Linked DNA regions of Homo sapiens: region 2 is linked to region 1. Evidence: promoter capture Hi-C in 16 types of primary human blood cells and fetal thymus (Javierre and others, 2016). All regions are on one chromosome and are shown on one strand. Each heading gives the region's core, a stretch centred on a gene start or on the middle of the fragment in contact. The rest is flanking DNA. Distances are from core to core; before and after follow the strand shown. Region 1 holds the start of GDF6 (growth differentiation factor 6). Region 2 has its middle 13 kb from the start of INTS8.

Region 1 (7,410 bases), core at 3,497-5,996:
CAACAAACAATCAGTGGCAAACTGTCCTGAGAGTTATTTCTAGGGCATCAAGTTCTTCAAGGATGTTCCCATCTCGTTTTGGTTTTTATCTGTTCCTTACTGCCTCCTTTTTGAGAATATTATTACAACAAGAAAAAAGTAAAGGGTATTCTTATTTCAAAGCCATCTGGAAACCTAACTCACAGCAATAGTCTTAGACTCATTTCGGTTCTCTCATTCTTGAGAGTTGTTTTTTCTCCTTGTTGGAATTATGTGGCACCTTTCCCTACATAAACTGAAAGTCTGAATCAGTCAGTCTCTTTCTCTCTCTCTCTTTCCCTCTCTCTCTCTCTCTCTCTCTCTCTCTTTCCCTCTCTCTCTCTCTCTCTGTCTCTCTCTTTTCCTCCCTCCCCTCTATCTCTCAGCCCTGCTAAATTCATAGAACTAATTGTCTGGCTTTCCCAGGCCCCAGGGCTGGGGGTCCAGGGCCCCAGTACTAGTAGCCTTTTAATGAGTTATTTCATGAGCAAATTGTAATTTCATCATATCCAACCTTGTCCATTCTCATCCCATGATGGCACCTAAACACACAGGCACACACCTTCTCACCTTTATGGATCCAACATCATTTTTAAAGCACAATATAAGAGCATTTTTAAAAATCAGGGATAATATGGTTTGTGCATCTGCTAAAATAAGAACAGGAGGAAGCAAAGCACACCAAAATTCAGACCCTCACATCTAGTTTCACTCACACTCCTAACTGGGTCTTAAGTGACTGCAGACAAATATTAGACTGGGGGAAAATCTTTCCATTTTTTGACTTCTGCTTCTTGTCATCATCCATTAGAAACCACCTCACCACTTAAACTATCTATACAGTGCTCTAGTTAAACATGCAGGGTCTCGAATCTTATATAGGCCCCACCTCTCGCTAGCTGTGTGACCTCGAGCAACTTGCTTAACTCCTCTGTCTTCTTTACTTCACCTGTAAAACGTGGTGATGATAGCGTTTTCCTAGGAAGTGGTTGTGATAACTAAGCGAGATAATTCATGTAACCAATTTTAGTGCAATGCTTGGTACACAGTAAATTTTCAATAAATCGTGGTTACTATTATTACTCCTAGGTGTCTGGAGAGCATACTGAAAGAAGGGACCTGTTTTAGGTTTGTTTGGTTTCTTTTTTTTTTCCCCAATAAGTTCTCCTCCTGGAGGATAGGGAGAAGTGGCCTGGGATGGAGTACAGAACTTGCTTTCTTTATAAACCTAAAGCGTCCTTCATTCACTTTGGGCAGAGTTTATGCCTGTTCTCCCACTCTCAACCATAGGCTTCAGGTGTAACTTTGGGGTTTCCGGGGTAAGGAAGGCTTTTTACAGATACTGTACAGGAGCAAGTCGCCCATGCCTCCTGGACTGACTTCGGGGCTCCTTTCCTTTTCTTCGCTCCTCCCCTTGGGGGACCCCCGGCTCCACCGAGCCAGGCCAGCCCCACTCGACGGCGATTTAAACATCCCTTAGGCAAGGCGCCAAGTTAGCGCTGCTGGCCCAGCTCTAGGCGGGCCGCTGCTCTTTCCTCCTCGCCAGGCCGTCCACGCGTTGGGGGAGGGGACCCTAGGGGGGTTGGCGCGGTTAAGAGCCCCACGTGAGAGGGGCGGAAGTCCTTGCCAGGAGCCGGGGATGCGCGGCTGGCGGGTCCCTTCCATCACGGGAGACGAGACACCGTTTGATGTGTTATGACATGAACCCTCAATTAGATCGCTGAGTTGAAACACTCCAATCAGGGGCCCGATGCTAAGCAAGCCCCGGAAGGTCCAGCCTGAGGTCACCGCCGGTGACACATCAAATCAAAATCAGTGAGAGGGAAAGTGAGGCTTTCCCTTTATCAAGCTGGGGCTGCAGCCAGCAACGCACCCCCTCCTCTGCGCACCCCTCCCGCCCGTGGCTCCGCACTCCTTCACCCCCGCGCGGCGTGCGACAAGCCGCACCGCCTTCCCAGTCAACGAACTGCCTTTCTTCGCATTTTCTGAGAACCCGGAGACGCGGAGGAGACAGCGCCTTTGAAGATGCTGTCCGGGTGGTCATGCAGCGTCTCCTCCCGCTGTGGACCGCTCGCATCCCCAGCCCTCCACCGCATTCCGGGGTTGTAGCGGTACTTGTGGATCTCGGTCCTGCTAGTCTGGAGGCCTTGGCTCGGGAACAGAGGCCTCCCCAGACTGGGTGCACATGCAATCCCTCCTCTATCTCCAGGATCGGGGGCATACAGCGCAGTGGCGGGGATGGGGGTGGGGAGGCTACAGGGCAAACCAGGGTAAAGTGATTTCGCGTCTACGCCGGATTGGGGCCCCCAAGACTTTTCCCCAACCCTTGTCTGAATGCCACAGGCTTCCGGAGACACCTCCGAACAGCCCGCAGGGTCTTTTGGTCCTGTGCCAAATTCACAGGGCGCAGCGAACCAGTTATGGTGCCCACTTGGGGGAGGGGCAGAGATTCTTGCCACTTCATTCCCGGGCAAAGAAAATCCGCGCCCAACCGCCGGCCAGCCTAGGCCTCTGGGACTTCTTCTCTTGAGGAAGGGCCTCTTGAGCAGTCTTCTCTGAGCTTCCTTAGCCTCCTTCCGCAATTGTAGTAGAGAAAGTGCACGATTAACAGAGGACTTTGAGGGACAGAAACAACTGTAGCAAGGCGTGCGTCGTGGGGAGGGTTGGCGAGCTGCACGGGCAGCACGGAGGCCAGGGACTCAGTTGCACTACTACGAAGAAGCCACATGTCTTTGCAAAGGTGACTTTAGTAGCCCTAAAATCATCATAAAATACCTGGCGTTAATTTGCCCTCTGGACCTTTCAGCAGCTCATGAACCTCGCTGACCTCGGGCTGCAGCGGCGAGACCCTCGAGCAAGGAACGCGACTATGAGTGAGAGGCGGGGACTGGAGCCGGGGAAGAGCTCGGGGCTGGGGGCGGGGGGGCCGTTAGCCTGCTCTAAAAAGCTTAAGAGATGTGCGAGCACCCAGGGTAGCAGTGGCTGAAGCAGCTTCCGAATCCCGAACCCCAGCGCTGCAAGGTTTCCGGGCAACCCCACTTAACTGGGAGCAGGTCAAAGTCATGGAGCTAAGTCTAGGGAGGATGGAGGAGTGGATATCTGCCTAAATCGCTTTTATCCCGTCATTTTCTTCCTTCCTTCTCTTTACTCTTCCTTTCCTTTTTCTCCCTTCCTTTCCTGTCTCCTTCCACATTATTGTCTCTCTCCTTTAGGAGCTTAGTTTCCGATGCCTGTGGATCCTTCCCTGATTTCTGGGACCAGAGGTGGTGCGAGGTTTTCTTGAGGGCACTGGCCACGCTGCAGATCAACGCCGGTGGCAAGAAGGGGCCGCAAGGGTTTCCGCAGACACCCACACATGCAGGCGTTCCCACAGAGGGTACCAGGGATTTCCCAGACCCCCACCAGCCCTCAGGAATAGCGTAGAGAGAGGAACGTCGCCTGGCTGAGAAAGGTGGATGGGCATACCCATGTACCTTTGTGTATTAAGTACCCACAACCTCCGAACTTAGCCGTCCCTGTCCCGGCCCGCCCAACTGCTGCCGCCGCATCTGCAGAAACCACTCGTGTTGAGGCCTCGGAGCAGCCGGGAGCACCACGCTGGAGCAAAAAAGCCGGAGGGCGCAGGGCTCCAGCCCGGCTGACCATCCCACCCAGCGCAGGGACCAACGGAAAACCCGCGCGGCGCCAGGACCAGGGGGCTGCCCGACGCCGCTCGCGGACTAGTTCCTCAGACTGTGGGACTCCCTAGTGCCGGCTTTGCCCAGGGCTTTCCAAGGCTGTCTCATGCCCTAGATCTGCCCCAGCAGCTCAGGCCTTGGACTGCGAACCCAGTATCCCGAGACACCGATTCCATCAGTCCCCATCCCGACCCCTCTCCAGCCGGGTTCATCCGCCTGCTGCCTCCCGTCCTCCACGTTTCCCCCACCAGCCACCAACAAGCGGCAACCACGCTGCCTTCTGCAAAAGAGGAAGAAGGAAAGAAGGGAGAGAGAAAGAAAGGGGGGGAAAGGAAGGGAGGTTTAGAGACTGGAATAGAATCCGCAGCCACATTCAGAAACTTACTCGAGCTTGAGAAAAACAATTTAAGAAAAGTAAAAAGGAAGTGTCCAGAGCAGGAAGGGAATTCACAAATGTAGCCTCCAGCGGGAACAGCTCCCTGGCTGCCGAGCTCCAGCGGGAGGGGAGTCGAGCGTTTTCTTTGCCACTTACCTAGTCCCCTGTCTACAAAGCTGGTGATCGTATTAGCCGACTTGGAAGACTGGAAAAAGCTGGCATTGATGCCCAGCTTCTCAGCGATGGAGTAAGTCCTGTAGATTGACAGCATGTACTCGTGGGGCACCACGCGCGGACCCCTGCCTGGCGGCTCCTGCGCCCGGGGCTGCTGAGCCCGGGGTTCGTCCTGAGGCCGCGGCTGTGGTTCCTGGCCCTCCCGGCCCGCGTCACTGTCGCGCGGCGCCCGCTGCATCTTGCCTTCCTTGCGGCTTCGCATGCCCTTGGTGGAACCCAGCTCGGCGGACGACGAGGAGGATGAGATGGAAGCCTGCTGGAAACCGGGCAAATCCCACAGAAAACTGATGAGGAAGACGGCCGAGAGCAGGACCCTGGGAGTATCCATGGCGGGCAAGTGGCTGCGTCTCCCCAGGAGGCGGTGGCGGCGGCGCAGGACGCGCGGGGCACGGAGCGGCTGGACAGCGGCCGGGGCCCGGCTCCTCGGGCGGACTCGGAGTGCGAGGAGCCGGGTCCCAGCCACACAAACCCCGGCCCCGCCACGCCCCCTCCCGCCCCTCGCCGGGAGGGGAGGAATGGGGAGGGAGGGCAGAGGAGGGGTGGGGAGGGTGGGAGGAGAGCCGGGTGGTGCGGGCCGGAGGTGTGGGGGAGAGGGGCCGCGGTGCGCCGGTGTGGCAGGAAGACGCAGCGCCCCCGCGGGACGCGCGCGGGGTTGCCGGGCGGTGCGCGCGGCGCGGGCCGCAAGCGCTGACCGGGGGAAGGCGGGCGCTGCCGGCCCGTGGCCGGGGAGCAAAGGCTGGCCCGCCGCGCCAGGGTCCCCCTCGAACTCCCGGAGGTGTGGTCCCTCCGCAGCGCGGCCCCGGCTCTCGGTCCTCGCCAGCCGCCTCCACTTTCCTGGGAGCGAGCGGCCCCGGAGGAGGGAAGCGGCGGCGGCGCCCCCAAGAGACAGCTTGGAGCAGGCGCCTCTGCTGCAGGCTGCGTGCTGCCTCGGGGCGGTGGTACCCTCCCTCCTCGGCCCCAACCGCCAGGCCTGCCGTTTGCGCCCCTCAGGGGCCAGCCCGGAGCCAGAGAAGCCTCGCCCTGGGCCAGGCGCAGGGCCCAGCTCGGAACAGCCCCATTTTCTCGGTTGGGTATCGCTCTCCACAAAGACAGGCGTCTATTCCCGACCCTCGAGGTCAGGCAAAGGCCACGAGTCTTTAGAGTTTGGATCGATGCTAAAAGCTGCTGCGCTCCCCTGCAGGCCCCAGCCTCTCCTCTCGCAGTCCCCAACCTCTTCTGACGCAGACTTTAGCTGCTCCACTTCTTCGTCTGCTCCCGGGATCCTCTCCCTCTCGCGGCCTGCCCCCCGCCTCCACTGCATCCCCATTTTCCCTCTCTTCTTTCCCTCCCGCCTGCAGGACTTCCTCCTTCCCCAAGTTCCTTCTGCATTCCAATCCCTCTTCCCCAGCCTGCTTTTCTTCTCACACTGCCCTCCCATCTCACACTGCCTTCCCACCCTCTCTCTTCCCGGCCTCCCCCCTCGCCTTCCAGTGGACCCCTCCCTTTGCAGCTCTACCCCAATCTGTTTCTCTTCAGCCCAGCCTCGCCCCATCACGAGTTTCCTTTATCTGTCCCCAGATTCCCCGTGCCTGTCTTCCCCGCCCACTGCCTCGCTCATTCCTGGGCCTGCACGCTGAAAGGCGATGCGGCGTAGCGCTGCTTCTGTCTGCCACAGTGCTCTGCCCTGGACTGCTATGGGCAGAAGAGTTTCCCTCAGTACTGATTGGGTGCTCAGGCACCAACCATAAAGTACCCTCCTTTAATCGTGCCAACAGCTTTGTGAGGTTGGCGTTGACTATTTTCACCTTCACGGATGGAAAAAAAAAAGACTCAATGGAAATAAGTGACTTTTCCAAGGCCACTCTGCCAAGAGGTTATGCAGCAAGGGACAGAACCCAGGCTCCCACCCCAAGCCCAAGATTCTTCCCACTACAGCATAGACAGTCATTCCTGGCCCAACTTCTCTATTTCAGTTCTGGCTTTTTTCTTCTCTTTATGGTTTCACTTGATCTCAGGTGGCTTCTTTCTCCGCCATGCTACTTTCTGTGTGTGTTCCCAGTCTCTCCAATCTCCTCCCTCTCACTTTCTAACCCCTTCTTCCTTTTGCTTTTTCATCACCTCTTCTGTCCTGCAGGGACCACTCACATGACAGCCTGCAGGGGGAGGGAGTTTTGCTGCGCTGCTCCCCTCATCCTTTAACTTCCTTAAGGTCTGGGATATGCCCTCCACCCTGGACACTGGCCTCCTCCAGGTAATGGCAAGCACCCACAGAGAACTTGTGTGTCAGTCATGGTTTGAAGCCCTTCGCCAATATTATTTTACTTAATCTTCACAGCAATCCTGAAATAAGTGCTGTATTATTCCTATTTTACAGATAGGGAAAGTGAGGCCCAGGGTCACACTACTCCAGAGTCTGGGCTCTTAATCACTGGGCTATTGAGCTTGGCTGCTCTCCCCTTGGTCTCCGTGGATGCCCCTTCTGGCCCTATCCCAATTCTACTTATGTCCCCTAGTTTGGGTTTCATGGTTGTCAAGTTCTGAGACCTTATACTTGAAGGTGCTTTTACTATAATATTTTCTTCCTTCCTCTCTCTGTGCTTTAAAATGGCTTGTTAATATTTACAATAAAATAAAATAAAAGGAGATAAACTGAAAGAAAAAATTATTTCTCAAATTTTTGCCACTACAACAAATCCAAATGTTTTTACCTTTTGGGTTCCCTTCCACTCCTTCTTTATTTGTTATGCACATATCCTTTTCATATTATTGTAATCCAGGGATAGATATTATGTTGGATTCCTCCCTTGTCACTTAACATTTTACAACCAAATCCACTGCCTTCGATGTCTCTCCCCTATGTCCCCCCTTCACTGCCCCTCTGCTGGCCTGCAAATGCAATCTCTGTAAAACCACAGACTCAAAACTCCCCATTTCTCATTTGCAGAAGGAACATTTCCCCCCTGCCTACCTGTCGCCTGTGGGATGTAAGTGGTCTTTTTTGGCCTGCCCTGTGTCTTGCTCTGTATGTCTGCCTCTCAAGTGTCATCCGGGAAAGTGCCCTCCTTGTGATCTATTTCCATCCCTTCCCCAGGAAACAACACTTGTGGTTTGTGTTATCAATATTTT
Region 2 (7,307 bases), core at 4,394-6,893, 1.3 Mb before region 1:
GATGCCTCGTGGCTCACTGTAGTCTCAAACTCCTGGGCTCAAGCAACTTATCTGCCTCAGCCTCCCAAGTAGCTGGGACTACAGGTGCACACCACTATGCCCGGCTAATTTTTTTTTTTTCTAGAGACAGTGGTCTGACAATGTTGCCCAGGCTGGTCTCAAACTCTGGAGCTCAAGCGATCCTCTTGCCTCGGCCTCCCAAAATGCTGGGATTACAGGTGTTTGAGCCACTGAGCCCAGCCTAGTTATTATTGAGAAGTACAAGCAAGAAAGAAGAAATAACGGGGTCACCCAGAGAACTGTCCTGCAGCAGGTGATTCTCCTTTAATTTAGTTGTATAATATCTACCAAGGCAGAGTACATTGTTTGGGAAAGCTGTTTTGGCTGGGTGTGGTGGCTCATGCTTCTAATCGCAGCACTTTGGGAGGCCGAGGTGGGTGGATCACCTGAGGTCAGGAGTTCAAGAATAGCTTGGCCAACTTGGTGAAACCCCGTCTCTACTAAAAATACAAAAATTAGGTGGGCATGGTGGTGCGCACCTATAATCCCAGCTACTCTAGAGGCTGAGGCAGGAGAATCGCTTGAACCCAGGAGGCAGAGGTTGCAGTGAGCTGAGATCTCGCCATTGCACTCCAGCCTGTGCGACAAGAGTGAAACTCTGTCTCAAAAAAATAAAAAAAATAAAAGAAAAGCTGTGTCATGAAGAGGGATGTTTCCAAGTAGGAAGAAAAATTAGAAAATGTCATTGGAATTTTTTTTTCCTGTTTATATCTTATAACTTGAGTGAAAGTGATGGGTAATGCTGGGACAGGTGGCAGGGTGAGGCTGAGAAGGTATCTCTCTCCCTTTGAATTGGTCAGTCTGGAAGCCAACACCACCACCCAGGGATTTACTAAAGGTTTCTTCATACATTGCTTTCTTCAAAGAACACATAACACATTCTCTATTTTCAACATTCCATGATAATAAGAGTGGGGATTCTCCACTGCTCCTCCCAAGCATGTGTGTGACCAGCTGTGATTCCATGGTGCCCCGTTTCCGTGTTCTCTGAAACATTTCAGTGGTGCTTCACAGAAAATTCCTTTTATAAATAGAGAAGCTCTTTTTGCTAGAGGATGAAGTCATGGAGTCATGGTGTGTTTTATTAGTTGGCTCAAATTTTTTAAAAATCAATTCTTTTTTCCATTTTTTATTTTTAATTTACATGGGTATATAGTAGGTATATATATTTATGGGGCACATGAGATACTTTGATACAGACATGCAATGCATAATAATCACATCATGGTAAGTGGGGTGTCTGCCCCTCAAGCATTTATCCTTTGTATTGCGAACAATCCAATTATACTCTTTTACTGATTTTTAATACAATTAAATTATTGTTTACTATAGTAACCCTGTTGTGCTATCAAATACTAGGTCTTATTCATTTTTTCTATTTTTTTGTAGCCATTAACCATCCCCACCTCCCCCCACCCCTCACTACCCATCCCAGCTTCTGCTAACCATCCTTCCACTCTCTATCTCCATAAGTTAAATTGTTTTAATTTTTAGCTCCCACAAATAAGTGAGAACATGTGAACTTTGTCTTTCTGTGTCTGGTTTATTTTACTTGATGATCTCCAGTTCCATCCATGTTATTGCAAATGACAGGATCTCATTCTTTTTTAGAGGAGCAGGAATGTGTTTACAAACAATGGTTGATCTTTCATATTTTCTTGTTAGGCTCGAAGGCCACAGTGCTGACAGTTGAAGTCTATGGCCTAGTAACACCCTGGACTTTGGGGAGCCCTGGGTGATTGCTCCTCACCTAATGGCTAAGCTGCCTCTGTCTGCTAGTTTTTTCTATCCTTAAATAGTATGGATCAAAAGCAATCCATGATCAGTGTAGGAAATCAGGAAAAGAGAGAAACCTATAAAGAAAAAAGTGTGAAATTCAAGTGGACTGAGGATTGTGGGGGAGAAACCATTTGAGTGCACACACATTTATTTATACATGACTCTTACCTTCAGGTTAATTGAGATCTTGATTTAATTAGTCATGAATGCAAAATCTTACTGGCACTATGTGGCCAAACCAGAGAAGCTAAATTTCCTTCTGTATCACAGGCATCTGTGGGGCTTTCTCTGCCCTCCGTGGGAGAACCTATCCAACCATGAATGTGTGGCCACCAGTGGGAATGTTTACAAACCCTGGGCTTGCCTGGTTTGTGAACCAGACTTAGAGCCACAGCCTCCTCTAGGGAAAAAGGAGAGTCGTTGCATATGTCCCTGAAAAGCATTAGTTTCCAGCTTCCTGGAGTCCTGGAGAGCCACAAAATCACCTGAGACAACTGCTGTACTGTTGAGTTCCACTGTGCAGAGATGGCCCCTATATTGATTTGTTTGGTATATTTCTTTACAGACTGTATTGTGTTTGTGTGTGTGTGTTTCTAATTTTAACAAAATTAGGAAAATTTTCTGTACCCTTTTTTGGTCCTGCTTTTATGCTTTATATTTTATCATGAACATATATGTATCATATGTATGACATTTATATAAACTATATAATATTTATAAAATTTATATAATTATGTATATATTATTCTCCAAAAGCAAAAATTGTGTTATTATACAATGTCTCATTTTGTGGTGAAATACACTGCTTTAATTATTCCCCTGCTATAGAACATTGTGGTTATTTTTTTAATTTCTTACTATTTGTTTTGCTTTTATAAATAGCACTGTAATAGCATACTTATATCTAGGTCTAATATTATTCTTCTTTAAAAATCATCTTAGAGGCCAGGCATGGTGGCTCACGCCTGTAATCCCAGCACTTTGGGAGGCTGGGGCAGGTGGATCACGAGGTCAGGAGATTGAGACCATCCTGGCTAACACGGTAAAACCCCGTCTCTACTAAAAGTACAAAAATTAGCCAGGTGTGGTGGTGGGCGCCTGTAGTCCCAGCTACTTGGGAGGCTGAGGCTGGAGAATGGCGTGAACCCAGGAGGCGGAGCTTGCAGTGAGCTGAGATCGCACCACTGCACTCCAGCCTGGGTGACAGAGCGAGGCTGTCTCAAAAAACAAAAAAAGAAAAAAAAATCAACTCTTAGGCCAGGCACTGCAGCTCATGCCTTTAATCCCAGCACTTTGGGAGGCTGAGGCGGGAGGATCATTTGAGGTCAGGAGTTCGAGACCAGCCTGGCCAACATGGTGAAACCCCATCTCTACAGTACAGTGAACTTCAATTTTGTTAAATGTGGCTGAGAGGCCCAAGGAGATGGCTCATATGCCTGTAATCCCAGCTAAGACAGGAGGATCATTTGAGGGCGGGAGTTCAAGACCAGCCTGGGCAACAGGGCAAGATTTCCATCTCTATCAAAAAATATGAAGGAATGTGTAAATAAGTGTGGCTGAGAATTTCTTCCATATGAATTCTAGAGAATAGTGCTTCTCGGCCGGGTGTGGTGGCTCACGCTTGTAATCCCAGCACTTTGGGAGGCTAAGGCGGGAGGATCACCTGAGGTCGGGAGTTCAAGACCAGCCTGACCAACATGGAGAAACCCCGTCTCTACTCAAAATACAAAATTAGCCAAGCGTGGTGGCACATACCTGTAATCCCAGCTACTCGGGAGGCTGAGGCAGGAGAATCGCTTGAACCCAGGAGGCGGAGGTTGCGGTGAGCCGAGATAGAGATTGCGGCATTGCACTCCAGCCTGGGAAACAAGTGCAAAACTCTGTCTCAAAAAAAAAAAAAAAAAAAAAAAGAATAGTGCTTCTCGAAATATCTATGGTGGAGAAGCAGTTTTATTTTGTGTTCCATGTTGCAATCTGTTGCACACTGATATGTGGTCCTACCGTTTAGGACTAGTTCCCAGCTCTGCATGTTGAATTTGCCACCCAAGTCCCCCAACACCCAAACTCTTCTGTCCCTGCTCCCCCAGACAAGACCACTGATCATTAACTTGGCTATCAAGACAATGTCAAATTGCAGTAAAAATTTGTAAATTCATACTGTCAATTCCCGTGCTTATCTTGATACCGACCAGAAACAGTTTAGGAGCTGACACCAGTCTTCAAACCATACTTTGAATATCTCTGTTCTCTGCTTTGTGTGTATGTGGTCTAAGAACTGGATATTTGAAGAAATCACATTATTTGCCCGCACATGCTCATCTGCTCTAATTCTGAAATTGTCTGGATAAGACTTTGGAAACTTGGCTTATTCCATTATAACGAATGAAGTCAACTGCTTGCTAAGAGCTGTGTGCCTACCACAGACAATTATGATCTTTCAACAGCATGGGGAAATACAGGAGTAAATACAGCCTGTGGTATCCTGATAGTATTTTAATATGACAATCTTTTTCTACCTACTGAGAATGTCAGGAAAGTTCTGACTCTAAAAGCACACCTTAAAATTTTGTCCTGTTTATCTGTATGCAGAGAGATTTTTATGCTTTAAAGCCTTTAGTGTAAACATATAGTACTTGGAAGTAAAAACAAAAAGAGAGACTAACATGAAAGCTCCTGTGACTTCTCCTCTAGATGCCAGCTGGTCGAATGTACATGACAGACCACTAGCCAGTCTGAAGAACTGAGCCCTTCCCCACAGTGAGCCTGGCAATGCAGAAATGGAGACGGAGGAGTCTGTCTGGCCCAGTCCCCAATCAAGCCTGTCTATCTTTTTGTTAGGCCATTCTTGCATTGCTATAAAGGAATAATTGAGACTGGATAATTTATAAAGAAAAGAGATTTAATTGGTTCACTGTTCTGTAGGCTGTACAGGAAGCATGGTACTGCCATCTGCCTCTGGGGAGGCCTCAGGAAGCTTCCAATCCTGGCAAAAGGCAAAGGGGAGCAGGCATCTCACAGGGTGAGAGCAAGAGCAAGAGAGTTCAGGGGAGGTATCACACATTTTTTTTCTTCTTTTTGAGACAGAGTCTCCTTCTGTCACCCAGGCTGGAGTGCAGTGGCGCAATCTCAGCTCACTGCGACCTCTACCACAGCCTCCCGAGTAGCTGGGATTACAGGTATGTGCCACCATGGCTGGCTAATTTTGTATTTTTAATGGAGGTTTCATCACGTTGTTAAGGCTGGACTAGAACTCCTGACCTCAAGTGATTTGCCCACCTTGGCCTCCTAAAGTGCTGGGATTATAGGCATGAGCCACTGCGCCCGGCCAAGTACCACACACTTTTAAACAATCAGATCTCAAACTCACTCAGTATTACAAAGACAACACCAAGATGATGGTGCTAAACCATTCATGAGAAATCCACCCCCATGATCCAGTTACCTCCCACTAGGCCCCTTCTCCAACACTGGGGATTATAATTCAACATGAGATTTAGAAGGGACAACATCCAAACTATAGCAATCACTGTACAGAAGGTTATAAAGGAAGGTAGCAGGCGGTTGCCAGATGAAAGTGGAATGACCTCTGCTCTGGCTATGTCATGGCAATAAGGACACACCTGTTCCTTCCATTAGGTGAATAAGGCCTACATTCGGTTATCCATTCAGCTAGGTGCTGTATGGATAACACAAATACAGATGTATAGACATGGACACTGCTTGGAAGAGCTGTAGAGGTAAAGGAAAACTTCTGCTTCATCCTCTGAAGGTTCACTGAAAATCAGCTAACAGAAGGCAGGTAAATAGAAGAAAAGGCATATAAGTTTATTTGATCATAGCTTTTTGTGACATGAGAGCCTTCAGAATGAAGACTCAAAGATACCGGGGAACCTGTCCATTGTATGCTTAGTTTCAACAAAGTATGAACAGCCATGTACAGATGTAATTGGACAAAAAGAGTATGACTTAACCATAATAGACTGAGTGGGGACACCCTGCAAGGTCTGTCTAGATTCTTCTTGGCTTCTCAGTGCAGCATTCCTTCCTACTGGGGACAGGGCAGCACCCTCTCTGGAATGGGGGTCTCATGACCTATAACCAAACAACATAGCTGGGCACTTTGGGCGGCCGAGGCAGGTGGATCACCTGAGGTCAGGAGTTCGAGACCAGCCTGGCTAACATGGTGAAACCCCATCTCTACTAAAAATACAAAAATTAGATGTGCATGGTGGTGTGCGCCTGTAGTCCCAGCTACTAGGGAGGCTGAGGCAGGAGCATCATTTGAACCTGGGAGGCAGAGGTTGCAGTAAGCCAAGATTGCACCACTGCACTCCAGCCTGGATGACAGAGTGAGACCCCGTCTCAAAAAGCAACAAACAAACAAACAAAACCCCCAAAACCAAGGTAGCTCACATAATTTTTTAATGTCAGTTTTTACACAGAAAAATGGGTGGGAGGGTGAAGTTAGAGTAATATTATTAGGTTTGATGGCTAGCTCCAGGGAAAAGGGGTTCTGGTTTCTATGGCAAGCCTTAGGGGAGAATGATGGTCCAGAGACAGGAGGTCAGGAGAGGGTCAGAGAGAAACTTATGTCTCTGGGGCCTTCATTTTAGGGTATCGTTTTCTGAGCCCCAACAAGCTTTAAGTTTATTGCTGATTATAAAACCTAGACAATAGAGTGAGTCATAAATATCTTAAGAACAGGTTAATAATGCTTTAGGTTAGATAAAGCAAAGATTAAATAAAGGTTTGTAGATCTGGTTTATAGGGAAGCATTTGCATGCATGTAAAAGGCAGGTGCTTTGTGTTTAATAAAAGATTTATTTATTTAGCAAATATTTACTGGGTGCCTGCTGTGTACTAGAGGCTGTACCAGGTAAACGGTATAACCACCATTCTGCTCTCCCCCACCCCCACCTCCAAGATCTTGGAGTCTACCGGGGAAGTGAGACTGTTAAATAGGTAACTGCAAGGAGGTGATATGAATGCCATGACCGGGATGCACAGCTCTATGGCCACATACAACAGGGTGCCTACCTGTCCAAGGAGGTAGTGAAGACCGCAGAGAAAAGTCATGTTTGGTAGGACTCGCTTATTACCTCTTGACAGATCTGTTTTTGGAAGTCCCTAACAAGATGTAATTCAGTTAGGTGTTGCAGGATAGCTTGTACAAAGAATTAGTTACTTCCAATCACAATCCTCAAGTCATATTCCTTCTTCCATACTGGAAAGTATAAGGAAGAGGTGATACCAGCCAGCCGGTATTACCGGTAGATATGGACACTATCCCTAATGGCCACAAGATGGCAGTAGAATCCATCAGCCAGTTTCCCCCACCTCAAAAATATTTATTGAATAAAGTTTTAAATTGTATGTTTATGTCTGAATTGTATTGCATATTTTTTTAAAGAAATACCAAAGAAATTAACCGATTTCAAGTTTTTTGTTTGTTTCGAGAGAGAGTCTGT

The links. Contacts are between HindIII fragments. The CHiCAGO score rates a contact against its expected background, and 5 or more counts as called.
Region 2: a contact is called between a fragment that was not itself captured here and the fragment with the promoter of GDF6 in region 1, in 2 of 17 cell types (total B cells and naive B cells). The highest score is 12.6, in total B cells.

The regions. Positions count from the first base shown.
Region 1 is chr8:96,156,060-96,163,469 of GRCh38, forward strand. It overlaps GDF6 (growth differentiation factor 6), which reads right to left and starts at 4,747. Exons shown (of 2, transcript NM_001001557.4): 1 at 4,228-4,747. The coding sequence starts at 4,633. The HindIII fragment of the contact is 9,891 bases long and covers 2,964-7,410 here.
Region 2 is chr8:94,806,519-94,813,825 of GRCh38, forward strand. No RefSeq gene overlaps it. Among named protein-coding and RNA genes, the nearest start is that of INTS8, 13 kb to the right of the region's middle. The HindIII fragment of the contact is 1,665 bases long and covers 4,812-6,476 here.